Regions from separate parts of the Homo sapiens genome. Here all the other regions are linked to region 1. The links are contacts of gene promoters, found by promoter capture Hi-C in blood cells and fetal thymus (Javierre and others, 2016). All regions are on one chromosome and are shown on one strand. Each heading gives the region's core, a stretch centred on a gene start or on the middle of the fragment in contact. The rest is flanking DNA. Distances are from core to core; before and after follow the strand shown. Region 1 holds the start of TFAP2B (transcription factor AP-2 beta). Region 2 overlaps PKHD1 (PKHD1 ciliary IPT domain containing fibrocystin/polyductin). Region 3 has its middle 550 kb from the start of TFAP2B. Region 4 overlaps PKHD1 (PKHD1 ciliary IPT domain containing fibrocystin/polyductin). Region 5 has its middle 560 kb from the start of PKHD1. Region 6 has its middle 530 kb from the start of TFAP2B.

What was found. Contacts are between HindIII fragments. The CHiCAGO score rates a contact against its expected background, and 5 or more counts as called.
Region 2: a contact is called between a fragment that was not itself captured here and the fragment with the promoter of TFAP2B in region 1, in 4 of 17 cell types (M2 macrophages, monocytes, M0 macrophages and 1 more). The highest score is 14.9, in M2 macrophages.
Region 3: a fragment that was not itself captured here is called in contact with the fragment with the promoter of TFAP2B in region 1 in 2 of 17 cell types (erythroblasts and M0 macrophages); the score reaches 5.9 in erythroblasts.
Region 4: a fragment that was not itself captured here is called in contact with the fragment with the promoter of TFAP2B in region 1 in 1 of 17 cell types (monocytes); the score reaches 6.7 in monocytes.
Region 5: a fragment that was not itself captured here is called in contact with the fragment with the promoter of TFAP2B in region 1 in 3 of 17 cell types (M1 macrophages, monocytes and M0 macrophages); the score reaches 6.3 in M1 macrophages.
Region 6: a fragment that was not itself captured here is called in contact with the fragment with the promoter of TFAP2B in region 1 in 8 of 17 cell types (megakaryocytes, M0 macrophages, erythroblasts and 5 more); the score reaches 17.1 in megakaryocytes.

The regions. Positions count from the first base shown.
Region 1 is chr6:50,817,171-50,820,166 of GRCh38, forward strand. It overlaps TFAP2B (transcription factor AP-2 beta), which reads left to right and starts at 1,701. Exons shown (of 7, transcript NM_003221.4): 1 at 1,701-1,802. The coding sequence starts at 1,722. It overlaps LOC124901490 (a long non-coding RNA gene), which reads right to left and starts at 1,856. Exons shown (of 2, transcript XR_007059923.1): 1 at 1,732-1,856; 2 at 75-474. The HindIII fragment of the contact is 1,562 bases long and covers 203-1,764 here.
Region 2 is chr6:51,758,520-51,761,291 of GRCh38, forward strand. All of the region lies in intron 55 of PKHD1 (PKHD1 ciliary IPT domain containing fibrocystin/polyductin), which reads right to left. Among named protein-coding and RNA genes, the nearest start is that of PKHD1, 330 kb to the right of the region's middle. The HindIII fragment of the contact is 5,157 bases long and covers 1-2,772 here.
Region 3 is chr6:51,367,644-51,370,538 of GRCh38, forward strand. No RefSeq gene overlaps it. Among named protein-coding and RNA genes, the nearest start is that of TFAP2B, 550 kb to the left of the region's middle. The HindIII fragment of the contact is 5,423 bases long and covers 1-2,895 here.
Region 4 is chr6:51,731,700-51,734,570 of GRCh38, forward strand. All of the region lies in intron 60 of PKHD1 (PKHD1 ciliary IPT domain containing fibrocystin/polyductin), which reads right to left. Among named protein-coding and RNA genes, the nearest start is that of PKHD1, 350 kb to the right of the region's middle. The HindIII fragment of the contact is 2,310 bases long and covers 127-2,436 here.
Region 5 is chr6:51,524,003-51,526,738 of GRCh38, forward strand. No RefSeq gene overlaps it. Among named protein-coding and RNA genes, the nearest start is that of PKHD1, 560 kb to the right of the region's middle. The HindIII fragment of the contact is 3,898 bases long and covers 1-2,736 here.
Region 6 is chr6:51,348,264-51,351,161 of GRCh38, forward strand. No RefSeq gene overlaps it. Among named protein-coding and RNA genes, the nearest start is that of TFAP2B, 530 kb to the left of the region's middle. The HindIII fragment of the contact is 1,749 bases long and covers 415-2,163 here.

The DNA of each region.
Region 1 (2,996 bases), core at 451-2,950:
AAGGGAAATGAAGGAAAGAAAAAAGGAAAACAAAAAGGAGGAAGAGGAGAAAAGGAAAGACGAAACATAAAAAATTCAACCGGAAATAAGGGGTTTATTTCTGAAGTTCCTTCTGAAGCACCTTCTTTGTGTTCTTTTCCTTTGACTTATCTTTAAAAATTAAATTAAAAATCTGCAGAATTGTTTATTCTGCAGTTCATGAAGCTTCTCCTTGGTTTTGATTGAATCGACGTCCAACAAGGTTGTCCGGAGCCCTGTACTCAAACAGCGTCCATCCCTGTTCGCGCAGAGCTGCACACAGCAGTCCTGGATTTAAAGACAATCACCCTTTGCAGATTCACTCTCACCAGGCTTAATAACTTCCACCCCAAATTGCCCCATCCCTCCTCGGTCCCTCCTGGCATTTCTTTTCTGTCCCAGGCGCAGAGATCCTCTTCTGGGCGTCTGTTCCGGCTATGAGAAGCTCTCCGCACCCTGAAAGGGAGTAGAAAAACAGAGGGGATGGGAAAGGGGGAACAGGGGAACAGATGAGTATTCATTTCATGATAAAATTCAGAATCCCTGCGCCTTAAATGGTGCCCATTTTCTAAGTCTGGTTAATATTGTTCTTGTTGCTGATGATGTTTTCCTTTTTAAAAACTATATGAATCATCTTATTAAGAAAAATTATACAAAAAAAAGAAGAAACTCCACATGCACTAAAATATTTTTCACTATCTCTTTGAAGACATTCTGCTTAAACCTTTTCAAAGATTCGGGTGGCCCTTTCTTGACTCTCCATGATTAAAACCACTTACAAGTCATACACAACAGATGCAAATATAAAATGTCCTTGGCCTCTGCAAAAAAGGCTCAAAATTAACCTTGTCTGAACGTGTGCGTACGTTGCTTCCAACATCTGAAAAAAACTTGATAAAATGGAGACTCCAGCCAAGAGGAATGGTGCATGGAATCCGTTGAAAATGCATACAAACAACACCTAAAATAACAAGCAGCACAAACTGAGGTGTATTTAAGTTTCCAAAGGTTTTAGGTAAAATGACCAGAAAATATTAGAAATGGTCATCAACGGTGGCTAGCTTTTTTGTTCTATGGTGACAGAGATAAAGTTAAAAAAAAAAAAGTTGTGTAGCCATCAACACAGAGATAGTCCTTAAAATCCCCCATATCCAGCCTTTCAAAATACTCTCTTCCGGAACATACATGAATAGGAGGGAGCTTTTGTGTTTAAAAATCTTGGTAAGTGTCCCCCTTTAAAATCTACATAGAAAATAGGGGACTGATGGCCCCTGGTTTCTCATTATGAATTGCAAAGACTTCAGTTAGTGGCTACAATGATGTGTCATTTTCGATATAGAAGTTATAAAATGTATATATTATATTAATCACCCTGAACAACTCTTTGTTAAATGCACATTTGGAGTCTGCAGACTGTGTGACCCAGAGGTGCTTATATAACTATATGTGGGTGTCTGGGTGTAAATACGGGTTTATGATTTTTATAGTATATATGTCTGTGGGTTGCATCTAACTCCTGTGTGTGCAATAATGTTTTTTCTCTTTGCTGAGGCTTACTTGTCCAGCCTATTGTTTGAGACAACAGATATAAGTTGCGATGGGAGAGGAGCGTCGGATTTGGTGTGTATCCCCCATTTCCAATTATAGATGGATCATTACAGACAGCGGAGTCCTGAGAAGCCAGACATCTGCTCCTCACATGAATGCACTCACCTCCTAGAGACCAGGCTGCCATCATGCTCTGGAAGCTTGTGGAGAATGTCAAGTACGAAGATATCTATGAGGTGAGTCGACACCCCCAGATGCACCTTAGAGCTTTGCAGATAGAGAATTTGAGCTTCTTGATACCCCAAATGATATATATTTTTAAGCTATTTACTCGTAGATTTCCGGTCGGTTTTCTCAGCTTTTTTTAACTTTTAGAAAAGCTGGCTAGGGAAGACTTCGCTGCTCTGAAAAGGGACTTTAAGGCTGAAATCTGACAACTTTAATTTAGGAATGTTTTTATTTATTTTATTTTTCTTTCCCTTTTCCTCGCCTCCCCCCACCCCACCCCACCCTTTTAAGCTCTGATGGGGAATGTGGTGCTACTGAATGTGGGCACGCTCTCAGAGAAAATCGAGATTCTGATAAAGTCAGGGGCTTTTCTCGTTTTAAGTGTGGAAGAGAATTGGGTTTTCAAGCCTCATTTGTAACAGACTCGGGCTTTTAATTTTTATTTTCAATAAAATTTCTGAAATTGATAACAAATGGTTCCAAGTAGAGGACAGAGAATTAGCGGGAAAGAAGTAGATGGCTGGAGATATGGATGGATAGAGCAAAATAGAAGTCGTAGCAGTTTATTAGTTTCTGTTTTCTTGTGTTTTGCTTCCTTGAGGGTCACTGCGTCCGAACAGAAATCGCAGCCGCCTCCTGTGTGGGCATCTTTCACGGAAATTTCTGCCCACGTTCAATGCGTACGGGTCTCTAGCACTGAGGCTAGCTCAACTCTTCGGGGCAGGAGAAGTTGCGCCCAGCCAGGAGGACGCCAGCCGCCTCCGGGGCCCGGACCGCGCTCGCCAAAGCCCTTTTCCGGCTCGGGCGAGGGCTGACGCGGCCAGACGGCTCCGCTACTCGCGGGCGAGGCGGACTAGGCGGACGAGGCGGCCGAGGCGGGCGAGGTGGGAGAGGCGGGCGAGGTGGGAGAGGCGGCCGAGGCGGGCGAGGCGCGGGGCGCGCGGCGGGCCAGGCTGGGGACCGGGAAGCCCGCGGAGCCTCGCTTTTAAGCGGAATGGTCTGGGACAGCCCCAGGTGGTTGCCAGGGGAAGGGAGGAAGGGAAGGTTCTGCTGAGACGTCGAGGTTGGAAATAAAAACTTCGGAAAGGCGAAGCGGATTTAGAAAAGGAGGGAAGTCGAGGCGGGCGAAGCGGGCCATGGAGATTGCTAAGAGGAAAAGTTGGAGAGAAAAGGAAGGAAGAGAAGCAGACTCCCGGGTGGCG
Region 2 (2,772 bases), core at 213-2,712, 940 kb after region 1:
TTCCTCTGATTAGTATGACTCCTAGATCTTCAGGGAAGAGGGGAGACTTGCTTGTTGTTATGAGCAAAACATACCTCAAATAATAAATAAACAAAAAATTAAAAGACTTTTTTTCAACATAATTGTACCTAAATGGAAACCATATGAGAAGAGAGAGGAAATTATGAATAATCACTGTGGAAGTCTTTTTAAAGATAACTCTAAGAAAATATAAACAAAATATCAGTACAGTTTCTTTATTTTGGCATAACTTTTGACCTAGTTCAGAGAAAAATAATATTTACTAGACAAAAATATAATACTTATTATTTACAGAGAATTTAAAAATGCTTCAAAATTTGATTTAAAAGTTTTTACAAAAATGTGTAAGACATTCACGTGTAAACACCTACAACTTAAATGAATTTGTTAACTTAATACTTGTAAGATCTTAATGATAATAACTGCATTTGACCACAGGCTCAGAGTGTACATATCACAAAACATGCCCTGTCTCACCTGCACCTCCAGGAATAGGGATGGCCACAGATTTCTGAACTCTACTAATATTTAGTCTTTTTCATTTTGTAACTTCAGTTTAAAATTTTTCTATCAGTGCCATTAAAATGTAATGAGGATTCTCAGACTGTATTATTCTACACTTGATAGAGAAGAAATTGAATTCTATAATGATGCTGGTAAAGATGGTGAGTGACAACAATTATAGCTATAGTCAATACCAATTATTTGTCTACCTGACTTCCTCTCTGCTTCATTCCAGGAAATCCCTCACACCTCATCTGAGAACTGCTCCCATCCACTATACTGAAATCTGTGAGAGCTGCAGGTTAAAGTCCCACAAACCCTTCACCAAAGGCTGGGCATAGGATCCAACCTGCATTCATTCACCAAAATCTTTCCCCTGGAATTTTGAATGAAACTGAGGGGAATTAGTAGTAACCTCCTCACTGGTGGTATAGCTAGGAAAAGCCAAACAGATCTGAGTTCACTTGCACCATACAGAATGAAGAAAACTATTCTCCAGTAGAAAAAAAAGAGGTTGAAATAAAGAAGTAAAAAAGTAGAGGAGGAGAGGAAGGGCTTGATACAGTCTTCAAAATGGCTTAAGAAGGGTTACTTTTACTTGTACTTTCGACTTAAAGAGCCCCGATTGCCACAATAGCTGCCCTGTCTTAAGGCTTACACTGTGCCAGAAACTGGGCTTAACACCTCATGTGCATTAACTCCCTCAATCCTTATAACTATTCTATTAGCAATGTATTGTTACTCACATAATTAAAGAAAATAAAACTGAGGCTCAGAGAGAGTAATTTACTCAGAGTTACACCTTTAGCTAACCACCTAACTAGAATTAGTCTGCCTGCCCTCAAAGTTCAAACTCCTTTTCATTGCAGAATATATTTCCAACCTACCTTCCAAACATATGCCTTTCACCAGCATCATAATAGTAGTGAATTTGGCAATAGAACCCAATAGTTTATTGGACCTCTAACATATGAAAAAAAATCATCATCTTTTAGAGGTTACATATGTGATCCTGAACTCTTGCCAATGAGTGCATAAGGCCACCAACTCTATATTCTAATACTTAAACTAAGTTGTTATAATAATAAAGTTTGAGGAATGAGCAAAATAAATTATAGTAGTATTTGAAATTAAATTCAAGATTCTCTCATTTGTTAGATAATATGCCATTGAACCAAGAAGCTCAATAAGTTCTGATTTCTAGAAAATACACATCAAGTCAATGTAGCATGCATTTATTGGAGCCCTTCTTTATGTTCTGCTGTGCACTAGACACTAATATACCAAATCAACAATAACAAAAATATATCTCTCCCCTATAGAAGCCACTTGGAGGAACAGGACACACAAATGTTAAACATCTTAGTGTTATGCTTTTCTTAAAATTACAAATCATAAAATCACATCTTACGTTCAGATGATGGGAAAATTTGTAGAGTCGGAGATACCTAAAGTCCTGTGTCTGATGTAATGGAATCTTTAAGGATAAATAGGAAGTTATACAGTCAAGGAGGAGATGCAAGAATACTGCATCTGATACTCTTATTTCATTTATTAGGTACTTAAGGAGCCAGTACAAAAGTTGTTGTAGAGAGCCATGGGTGAAGTGCTGCAATGAGAATGTAGCAGATAGGAAAGAAAAAAGAAACATTCCAAACAAAATATATACAAAGAACACATCATTAATTTAACATAGGAGATAAAGGAATAGATATAATCAATTATGACATTCAATTTAAAGGTTTAGGGCCTGGAGAAAAGGATGAGGTAACAAATGACTTGATTTCTTATTCAGTTCACAGTTTCTTCCTTGTAAATAACAGAGTATGTTAATAAATCACTTCAGACACCTCATACCTGTCAAAATTACCAAAACAGTGAAAGATAACAAAGGTTAGTGAGGATGGAAAGAGAAGAGAACCCTTGCATACTGTTAGTAGAAATGTAAATTAGTACAACCGTTATAGAAAAGAGTTTGGAGGGTCCTCAATAATTAAAAATAGAATATGATCCAGCAATCCATCTTCTAGATATATATTCCAAGGATATGAAATCAGTATGTCTGAGATATTTGCACTCCCATGTTCACAGCAACATTATTCGCAAGAGCCAAAATATAGAGTCAATCTAGGTGCCCATCGACAAATGAATGGATAAAGAAAATGCAGTATACACATACACTCTGGAATACTATTCAGCCTTTAAAAAGAAGAAAATCTGGTCATTAGCATCAACATAGATGAACCT
Region 3 (2,895 bases), core at 193-2,692, 550 kb after region 1:
CTCCAAAGGAACACACACTAAAGTGTACATTATGCTACCTATGAGGGAAAGATGAATCCATTGTTTGTATATAAACGTGAGCTGATTTTCAGGATGATCCATGGTGTCTCATGCGTGGGAGCTTGGGAGTTGGGTAGAATCCTTGTCTGAGGGTTGGAGGCTCTCTTGAAGGAGGCACACAGAGACTACTGAGGGAGCTAAGCCTGGAATTGTGCAAGCCTTCATATGAAGGAAAAAGGAGAGTATTCCTTGTCTATTCTTGTAGACAAGGAATGGGGAGTCAGGGTTTGCCATTGTATGTTTAGAAAATAGAAAGAGGATGAATTAATAAAAGAGTCAGGGATGAGACCAGGCAAAAAGGAGCTTCCCAAAGAACTACTGAACCTCTTTTTCTATTTCCCAGTTTTACTTTTGTTCAGTCCTGTCTGTAAGGGCAGTATGGCCTCTTTGGTAATTTATGACTACAAGTGTGTTTCTTTATTTAATGTTTTTTAGTAAAAGGAGGTTGAGCGTTAAGAGATATGAACTCAAATACTATTTCTCTCTAACTTTGGGACTTTCCATTTGATCACTCCCTCAGCTTGCACCTTTTAAAATTATGATTAACATCTGCCCTATCTCAGTATTGAAAGGCAAAAAAATGTGAAGTGACTTTGAAAAGTATAAAGCGTTATATGGGTGTAAGAGTAAGTATGATTTCAAAATTTTCCTTCAAATTCTCTTAAGATTTTTGTAAGACTAGTTGATCACTATACACATATTCTATTTGTACAAAATTTGCTGTGTTGACTGCATATATGTGTACGTATGAACACAAACAAACATATGCACTTAGTTTCCTCTTTCTCCTTATTTTAAAAATCATTATTATCGTTTGATAGGAAAAAGACAGAAAAACATTTTATAAGAGTTTAAGCAACAGAAATATAGGAAAAGATAATATATGAAAATAAACTAGACAACGAACATTTTTATAAGTAACTTTAAAATCTAAAGCACTTATAAGTTATTTGCTTTTGAGGTTTTTTAAACGAACCATCTAAGAAAGTTAACTTTTTTCACTTAATTTCCTACAGTGGGTCTCCATAGGAAATAATTGGAACAATCTATGGAACACTTTTTTTCTGTAGCTTCTAAGCTCTTTTGTAAAGTCAGTAGCAAAACTGCCTCACCAACAAAATATGAATAACCATTTCCGTTTCACTCCTATAATCTGTTATTTACTCCAGAGTCAATGTATTATCAAATGTGGAATCAGCAGTTCTCTTATATGTAATTATAATGGCAATGATTTAACCCAGCTCATCTTATTTTCAAGCTGTCGACTCTCAGGGATATGGTACCGGTGTATGATGAGCATTTTAGAGTAGTTCCCTCAGAAATGAGAGACTCATGCAAAATATAATCGATGCAAGGAATTTTTCTTTTAAAAAGTTAAGACAAATAAAAACATGAACATGAACTTTAAAAAAGAATTTACTTAAAATATATAATCTAGTATAAATTTAATGTATGGGGTTGTGAAAATAATAATACACTTTTAGAGATGAAGTATTCAAACAAGAAAGCAAGGATGTAAAGAATGATAGGACAGATGGAGTAAGGAAAGTAGGCATTACAGAAATGTAGAAACTAGGCAAAGGCTGAGATACTCCTGTAGTGTAGAATGTAAGGCTAAGTGTGTATTTATGTATACTTGTATTGTATTGCATAATTAGGAGCTGGGACTCTCAATTAAATAGCACTGTGACCTGAGTAATAAGAGTGTTTATTTAACTGGTTAAGTTTATTGGATTTAAATATTCATGAACTGACACAACTTGATTATGACACCTTCTTTACAATTGTGATACAGAGTTATCTACACATACTTAAAGGATGGATGAATTATTCATGTCTGGGCAGCCCCACTGTTGAGTGTCTGGCTGCTTGATAGATATGAGTACTCCAGCCAGTTGGCCCAATACATAAACAGCATTTAAAGTCAACAGGACCCTTACCTGGTCCATGTGCTAATATTGCATGGCAGATACCTGCTGATGCAGCATTATTCTCCCTCATCAATTAGAATAGAAAACGTCTAATTCTTTGGGACATAAAAGATGCCCAAAAGAAACTTGGCATCCTTCTCTGCTATCCACAGGTACAATTTCCTGTTCAGAAAGGCAAGTGTTGGTAATTCATAATTCCTCTTCATGGTACTGATATTTTCCCATTCTCCCCTACTGGATCTTGGGGGTTAGAAGGTGACATTAAAACTTGTGTGTATCCTATACTTACCTTGCCTAACTGTGTACAGTCTTAGTTATTCAGAGGAAAGATAATCTGTTTCTAAATCCATCTCTGGACTAGAAAGTTAATGCATACTCTGCTAAAGCATATTTGTCAATTTATTACACTGTGGAAATTCAACCACTGCTTTAGGATATTAAAGGTAACACTATGCTCTGCTATCACTATTCAATATTGGGGATACTATGGTAAGAAGTTGGATGGTGTATTGCAGCTGGCCTTTAACATAAGATTTAGGTTCTGCTATTTAGTGTTTATTTATTTGGCAATTCACTTAATCTATCCAGGATTGTGGACTCAATAATATTCTCATTTCAAGGATATGGGAATTATAATAATACCTATATAATGAGTTCTCTTGGAAATCTATGAAGCATTAACAAATCTGCTTTATTAGCTCTGAAGCCTCACAAGGCAACAGAAATCATTCTAAAATGTCCCCAGATGGTCATGTTGCATCCTTTAGTGTGGAATATGTTAGTCAAGTTTTGCACATTACAGAAGTTTTCATGCATCACAAAATCAAAATGTTTATAGCTTCACTCCTCTTGTGTTATTTATTTTCAGAGGTTTCTTAGATCCATTCAGTTTTTTAACCATAAT
Region 4 (2,871 bases), core at 32-2,531, 910 kb after region 1:
GCTTAAAAAATCAATTCTCTTTAATGTGTATCCCTCAGAACAAAGGAAGAAAAATATCCATATGATGAATGCAGCTACATGTAGCTATTTAGTCTTTGAAATGTGACTAGTGCACCCAAGGAGCTAAGCTTCAAATTATGTATAATTTTAATTAATTATAATTTAAAATGTAAAACTGATAACAATTATTGGAAAATGTTTAGGTATATTTTAAACAATGTTTATATGTGATTCTACTTTTTCAGTTGCAAAGTTTATAAAATATAGGCAAAGATCAAATACTTTTGATAAAAACACTTTATAAATTGACATGGCATAACAGTAAAAAGCACAACAGATTTTAAACACATAGTATAAGAAACATAATGCAAAATATCTCAACTACACTGATTACATATTAAAATGATGATTTTTAAATATATTGAGCTGTTTCTTTTTACTGCTTTTAGCCTGGATGCTAAGATACTAAGTCACACTGGTGCATTATATTTCTTTTGAACAATACTGTTCTGGATGGTTAATATTCAGTTCTTATTCCTAGATTTAGAAAAAAATCACTGAAAACTGAAGATCATCAAAAATATGCCAGTCCTTCATAAAAATATCAAAAATTTGTGGATCAAAAAACTCTATCAACAGAGTGAAAAGGAAACCTGAAGTATGGGGGGAAATATTTGCAAATCATATGTCTAGTAAAGGATTAATATCCACAACATAAACCACAACTCCTAAGATTCAACAATAACAAAAAAACCCAAACAGCCCAATTCAAAAATTAATATGGGACTTGAATAGACATTTCTCCAAAAAAGATATTCAAATTAACAATGACTCCATGAAAAGATGTTCAACACTACTAATCACTTGGGAAATGCAAATCAAAATTACAACGACATATCACCTCACACCCATTAAAATGGTTACTATCAAAGTAGAAAATTTCAAGTGTCAACAAGGATGTGGAGAAACCATTGTGTACTGTTGGTGGGAATGTAAAATGGTACAGTTATTGTGGGAAACAACATTATGGTTCCACAAAAGGTTGAAAATAGAACTATCACATGACCTTGCTATTTCACTTCTGGATCTATACCCAATAGAATTGAAAGTAGAGTCTCTAAGAGATATTTGTATACCATATTCATAGTAGCATTATTTACAATAGCTAAAACATGGAAGCATTCCAGGTGTCCATGGGTGGATGAATGGATAAGCAAAATGTGGTAAGTTCATGCAATGGAATGAAATTCCATAATATGCTACAACATGGATGAACCCTGAGAACATTATGCTAAAAGAAATAAGCCAGTACCAAAAGGTATTGTATGATTCTACTTATATGAGGTACTTAAGGGTAGTCAAAATCATAGACCCAGAGAGTGGAATGTTGGTTTTCAGGAACACGGGGTAGGGAAGAATGGGAAGTTACTGTTTAATGACATTAGAGTTTCAGTTTTAAGAGTTGAAAAGACTTATGGAGAAGTATGGTAGTGATGGTTGCACAATACTATGAATGTATTTAATACCACTGAACTGTACACTTAAAAATGGTTAAGATGGGCCAGGCACAGTGACTCACACCTGTAATCCCAGTACTTTGGGAGAACGAGATGGGCGGATCACAAGGTCAGGAGACCTAGATCATCCTGGCTAACACAGTGAAACCCTGTCTCTACTAAAAATACAAAAAATTAGCCGGGCGTGGTGGTGGGAGCCTGTAGTCCCAGCTACTGAGGCTGAGGCAGGAGAATGGTGTGAACCCAGGAGGCGGAGCTTGCAGTGAGCTGAGATCACACCACTGCACTCCAGCCTGAGGACAGAGGGAGACTCCCTCTCAAAAAAAAAAAAAAATGGTTAAGATGGTAAATTTTATATTATATGTATTTTACCACAATAAAAACATAAGCCAGTCTAAAAAGTGAAGAACTAAAAAAATGTCATATATTGGCTGATAGAAGGAATTTAGAATTCCTATGCTTGAAAAAGTCTTATTTGGCTTATTATAAAATCATTGTCTTACTGTCTTTGAATATGTAAAATGCTGTAATACAGAAAGACTTATATGAAACCTGGAAAGACTTATACTCTGTCATGCCAAAAGGCAAACTAGGTCACTGGGTAGAAGTCATAGAAGGAAGAGCCTAACAATAACAAGTTATTCAAAATATAATATAGGCAGCCTTAAAAGGGTGTGAACTCCCACTTCCTGGGAAAATGAAAGGTAAAGGGCACGTATGCATGTGAAGTGAAGCTGATTGATCTTCAAGGGACCATCCAAATCAAAGGCACTACAATCTTGTCATTTCTTTCCAAGTAGCATGTATTCCTGTAGACTAATAGATTAACATGAGGCAATATTTCCCAGAATGTGTTCTGAAGTACACTAGTTCCAAGGGACCCTAATGTGTAGTATGAACAGGTATTCTCTAGTCAAAAAGCTTGGGAAACACCGGGTAACACAAAATTAAACAGTGTTTTTAAAAATTTAATTGCAGAACTTATCAGAATCTTCAGTATTTTAATACACATGGTGGTCTCCAAAATAGGAATAGTCAGAGTTTTCAAAATTTATTTGGCCATGTACCACATTTTTTACAATCTCCTGAAATTAGAAAATGGGGGAATATTCTTTGAAAATGCTAAAACAAATTATGCATTAATTAAATCTATAAAATTTACTTTGTGGAAGAGTTGACTGGCAAACTAAACTTAAATTCTTGACTTTCTTATTCACATTTGTTCCCTCATTCAGCAAACATTAACAAAGCCTATATTATGTTCCATAAATTGTACTAGAAATTCAAAGACATTTACCTTGAAGTCACTCACAGTCTGGTAAGAAAGCAGACTTGTAAAATGATGGCGGTAACC
Region 5 (2,736 bases), core at 110-2,609, 710 kb after region 1:
GGTAGGTCCTTTATATACACCCGATCCTCACTTCAATCTTTTGAAATTCATATTATTTTTCCATTTTCATGTATTATGTACAAATAAAACGAAAGCTCAAGAAATTAAGATGGCAGTTCCACGTTCACACAGCTAGGGAGGTGAGCAGGCTGGCTCCAAAAGCCCATTTTCCTTTCACTAACCTAGTCTCCTCTTCATTACAGTATATCAGAGGATAGATAAGAATAATTGTTGGGAAGAGCCAATGAGGAAGTAATGACTTCGAACCCTAATCCACAAAACCTGTGATTGTTAGAGATAACCTATAGGAAAGTACAGAATGCATGTATTAGAATGGAGCATTGTATCTGAATTATCTTCCCAGTCCAAATTCAAAGGATAGGTGTTGGGGATTGCCTGAAAGATAGATAATCATATTAGAGAGGAATGGAAAGCGATGAGATGAGAAAATTGTGATTAAGTTTAGGAAAACAATTGGATGTTTAGACTTAGGAAGACTTGGGGGTTTATCCACAGAACATTATCAAACACAGCACATACTCTCTAGAACATTCCAGCCAGGGACAAAAATGAAGCCATAGTAATTTTATCTCTTTGGTTATCATATGCATTTGATACAAGGGAAAAACAGCTCCACTGTTTCTGGAAGGTGCATTGAGATATCTTACCCTTATTATCAGAAGCCCTCTTTAAGAACTTTCAGTCTCCATTGATTCCAAGGGATCCACCCTCCCTGAAGCCTCATCAAGTTGCCTCCCCTCAACTCCCTGTGCACTCCCTCATAGCCAGGCTGCTTTCTGAGACTCTCAGGTGGAGCCTCGAGAACAACTCGCAACTCAACCCAGCAATAGGGCAGTGAGTCTAGCCCTCAATTCCTGAAGCCACCGTGTCCAGGGGCTGAGAGACTCCTAAGAAAAGTATCCAGCTGTGCCCAAGATTGTACCCTGAACTTCTTTAGTTTGTCTTTGACAAACAATTACACGTGTTTTGGGGGACCCTAAGTGTCATGTTGAACACAAATATCAAAGCAGATTTCAGAACCCTGAAAATCAACAGTGACTAGGCATGTGGTGTTTGTCTCTATAATGGTAGACATTAACTCCTCAAAGACAGGGCCCATGTCTTCTCTGTCTTTGTCTGCCCATGACCCAGCACCTGATCACAATATGTGCCCAATTAATGTTGAGCAGAAATTAAGTACAAGAATGTTTCCCAAGACACTTTCTCTGAAGCCTGCATTGCTTGTCAGTAGTCAACACTGTACACCTCTACTTAACAATAATATTCCTCTTGTTGATTTTCCTAGTCATGAGTAGGATCTCCTTTTCATCATTTGGTAGTTGACTTTCCAAAGACCCACTCTAGTAAGGATAGCATTTGGAACTCAGAGTATGCTCTGGGAACATTTCACTCATGGCACCATGAGGAGCTAATGCAATTCAGAATGAGAAAGAGAAGGGGAGCTGCATGTGTATGCAGAGTCCATATTCCCAAAATTCTTCATCCCAAGGCCAGCCAAGTCAGGTGAAGACAAAAGTGGAGAGGGGACACGATATATTACACATAATGGTTTTGTCAAAGCTCTAAGAGAAAAGACTGTCTAATAGAGAAACCAACAGTCAGTAACTCTGGGGAAAGACTTATTAGACTCCTGGACAAAACACCTTCCATAGGATAACATTGCAACTCTTCCTTTTTTGTAAACAATAATTGGTTATAACAGAAAACTACAAGTTCTGACATCTGAACGTAGGGCTTGACTCACTGGTGCAGGTCAGCTGCAATTGCCTACAGATTATACAAGGTGGCCACGAATAGCCCCACAAGTTATGCCTGGGACAACTATGGAAGGTGCCATTTTATTCTAATGTTTGCTATTGTTTCCCTGAGATACCAGATTCTTTTCAGAGCCCTAGGAAAGTGGGAATCCCCAATATTACATGAGTTAAAATTCTAACTGAGATCTCTGTTTTTAAACTAGCCTGGTTAATACTTGGCAGGTGACAGTGTTTGGATGCTGCCTTCTGAGAGTGAGTTTCCAAGAGCACCCCAGGCACACTCTACAGAAGTATTTGTGCTAAATTCACAATTGCTTTTTTTTTCTTTAGAGTCCAGTGTAGTTTACATCTGTTTGCCCCATGAGTCCACTCATAAAACAAGAATAGAATTAACAGTTTGTGAGGATTCTTAGGGACTTTATATGTTTGTGAAAATGAAACTAATTCAGCCTAACTCCAATATAAGTGCTGTTGCATGCCGCGCACAGCACCCTGAAACCCAGTGGGTTCTGCTAACTTGTTGACTGACTGATAAACAAGTTCCAGATTTCTAATTGGCCACAGCCTCCCTGGCTGCTCTGATGATATATCGCTTTGGGTGGAAGATTCAGCCTGTATCACTCAGAAATAAGCAAAATTGAACTAAACTAAAACAACTGTTTTGCATAGAAAAGAAAACATCTAATGTTTGAACCCCTACCAATACCTAACCCCCTCTTCTTTCTGGGTAACCCTGGGTCTGAGGCCCTTAGAAGATGCAACTAGACCTCTTAAGGACATGTGAATAGTGTGAACCCAGAGAAAGTACTCAGGAGCCACCTGTGGAGTCAGGGGAGGACAAATTCAGCTCAGTACAAAAGCAAGCAATCCAGTTCAATAAACACTTATCTAGCAACTTTGTGGCTAACTGTACAGTGGAAATGTGAAGACAAAAAGCACTCTTCGTGTTCAGAACCTC
Region 6 (2,898 bases), core at 39-2,538, 530 kb after region 1:
GAGGAATTTGTTATTATCCACCTTCTGAAGCCTACTCCTGTCAATTCATCAAACTCATTCTCCATCCAGTTTTGTTCCCTTGCTGGCGAGGAATTCTGATCCTTTGGAGGATAAGAGGCATTCTGGTTTTTGGAATTTTCAGCCTTTTTGCATTGGTTCTTCCTCATCTTTGTGGATTTATCTACCTTTGGTCTTTGCTTTTGGTGACCTTTGGATGGAGTTTTTATGTGGTTGTCCTTTTTGTTTATGTTGATGCTTTTGCTTTCTGTTTGTTCATTTTGCTTTTAACAGTGAGACCCCTCTTCTGCAGGTCTGCTGGAGTTTGCTGGAGGTCCACTCCAGAACTTGTTTGCCTGGGTATCACCAGCTGAGGCTGCAGAACAGCAAAAATTGCTGCCCCCTCCTTCCTCTCGAAGCTTTGTCCCAGAGGGGCACCCACCAGATACCAGTTGGAGCTCTCCTGTATGAGGTGTCTGTCGACCCCTGCTGGGAAGTGTCTCCCAGTCAGGAGGCACGGGGGTCAGGGACCCACTTGAGGAGGCAGTCTGTCTCTTAGCAGAGCTTGAGTGCTGTGCTGGGAGGTCCACTGCTCTCTTCAGAGCTGTCAGGCAGGAACACTTATGTCTGCTGAAGCTGCACCTATTGCTGCCCCTTTCCCCAGGTGCTCTGTCCCAGGGAGATGGGAGTTTTATCTATAAGCCACTGACTGAGGCTGCTGCCCTTCTTTGAGAGATGGCCTGCCCTGAGAGAGGGAATCTAGAGAGGCAATCTGGCTACAGTGGCTTTGCTGTGCTGTGGTGGACTCTACCTAGTCCAAACTTCCTGGCAGCTTTGTTTACACTGTGAAGGGAAAACTGCCTACCTAAACCTCAGTAATGGCAGACACCCCTCCTCCCACCAAGCTGGAGCATCCAGGTCAACTTCAGACTGCTGTGCTGGCAGTGAGTACTTCAAGCCAGTGGATCTTAGCTTGCTGGGCTTCATGGCGTTGTGATCTGCTGAGCAAGACCGCTTGGCTTCCTGGCTTCAGCTCCCTTTCTGGGGGAGTGAATGGTTTTGTCTTGCTGGCATTCCAGGCGCCACTGGGGTATGAAAAAAAAACTCCTGCAGCTAGCTCAGTGTCTGCCCAAATGGCTGCCCAGTTTTGTGCTTGAAACCCAGGGCCCTGGTGGTGTAGGCACCCAAGGGAATCTCCTGGTCTATGGATTGTGAAGACTGTGGGAAAAGTGTAGTATATGGGCCAGAGTGCACCATACATCATGGCATAGTCCCTCATGGCTTCCCTTGGCTAGAGGAGGGAGTTCCCTGGCTCCTTGTGCTTCCCAGGTGAGGCAACACCTCACCCTGTTTCTGCTCGCTCTCTGTGGGCTGCACCCACTGCCTAACCAGTCCCAAAGAGATGAACCGGGTACTCAGTTGGAAATGCAGAAACCACCTGCCTTCTGCATTGGTCTTGCTGGGAGCTGCAGACTGGAGCTGTTCCTATTCGGCCATCTTGCCTGGGAATCTAACTGTCTTATATTATAGTTTGGGTTTCTCAGGGGCAAATGCCATGCACTTACTCATATCTTCAGGCTGTTTTTCTGCCTAAAACTTAGTAAGTTCAGAATTAACTGGAAAGCAAACACCTGCACAGTAGATATACTCTGCTGCGGGTGCTCATTCACCACCACCCTCTCTTTCCCTTATCCCTTGGAGACTTACCCTCTGCTAGGAAAATGTCAGTGACTTAGTCAATGGATTCAGTGTCTTCACAGAGCAGACTGAGGGGAGCCAAAGCAGGCTAAGGAAACAATGGTCGGCATTGTTTTTCCAAGTCTTTCTCCAATCCCTCCGCTGGCATGGAAACCTTCCAGGCCTCTCTCCAATCAGGGCCACACCCTCACCAGTGCTATGGAAATCCTTCTGCGCAGCACCAAGGTAATGAAACCAGTAAAAACAGTGTTCTTTTCCCATTGGCTAAGCTGGAATAATTCCTCACCCTTAGCAAATGGGCAAGTGGAAATTCTAGTAGGGAATTTAGAACACAGGTCTACACACTGGAAACCCTCAATGGAGTCTAAGGTTCTTTATATACATATACATTGTATACATAAAAGAGTAAAAGAAAAGAAATCAGCTGAATCCAGAGAGATTGTTTTATTTTGTTAGCATAATACCAAAAGCTTTTCTCACTTTTAAATTTGTGGTTTTCAAAGTCTTAAAAAGAATATGAATATCCTTGTGTGTGTCGTTGCCCTCTACTGGATAAGCTGGGTAATATTGTCACTAGTTGTCCAAACATATTAATAATATACTGAACAACATCTTATACTTGGCTAGCATTTTGTCTTTTTATTTTTCAAAATGATTATACATGTAGAATTTTAATTTACCCTTTTCATAATGCTATAAAATAACTAAGCTATTTTTATTCCCATTTTACAGATGAAAAACTGAGGCAGAGGTACATTATTCACTCAATATACATACTTTAATGAAGCTGTATATAAAGAACTACGCTAAGCCATTTACAAAGGTGAATAAGATGATCTATACTCTCTGGGAGCTTAATTTGTTACAGATAAGATATATACCCAAATATCTATAATGAAAATAAAATTGTGATATAGGAATAAATTAAACTAAGAATTATTGATTGTAGAAGGAGCTTATACATGTTACTTTAGCCTCACAGTAACTTTTTTGGTATATGTCATGTGCCTTGTTTTACAAATGACAAAATTGAGGTTGGATGTTTCTAAGTCATTGTTCAGATGCCCCACAGAGAACAATGCTATAGGAAAGGAGAAGAGGAAGAATTTACAACTGGTAAAAATCAAGAAAGGCGTCATAAAGGTGGTGGTGTTTGGCCTAGGGCTTAAAGGATGGGCAGGGGCTGGGTGCGGTGGTTCATGC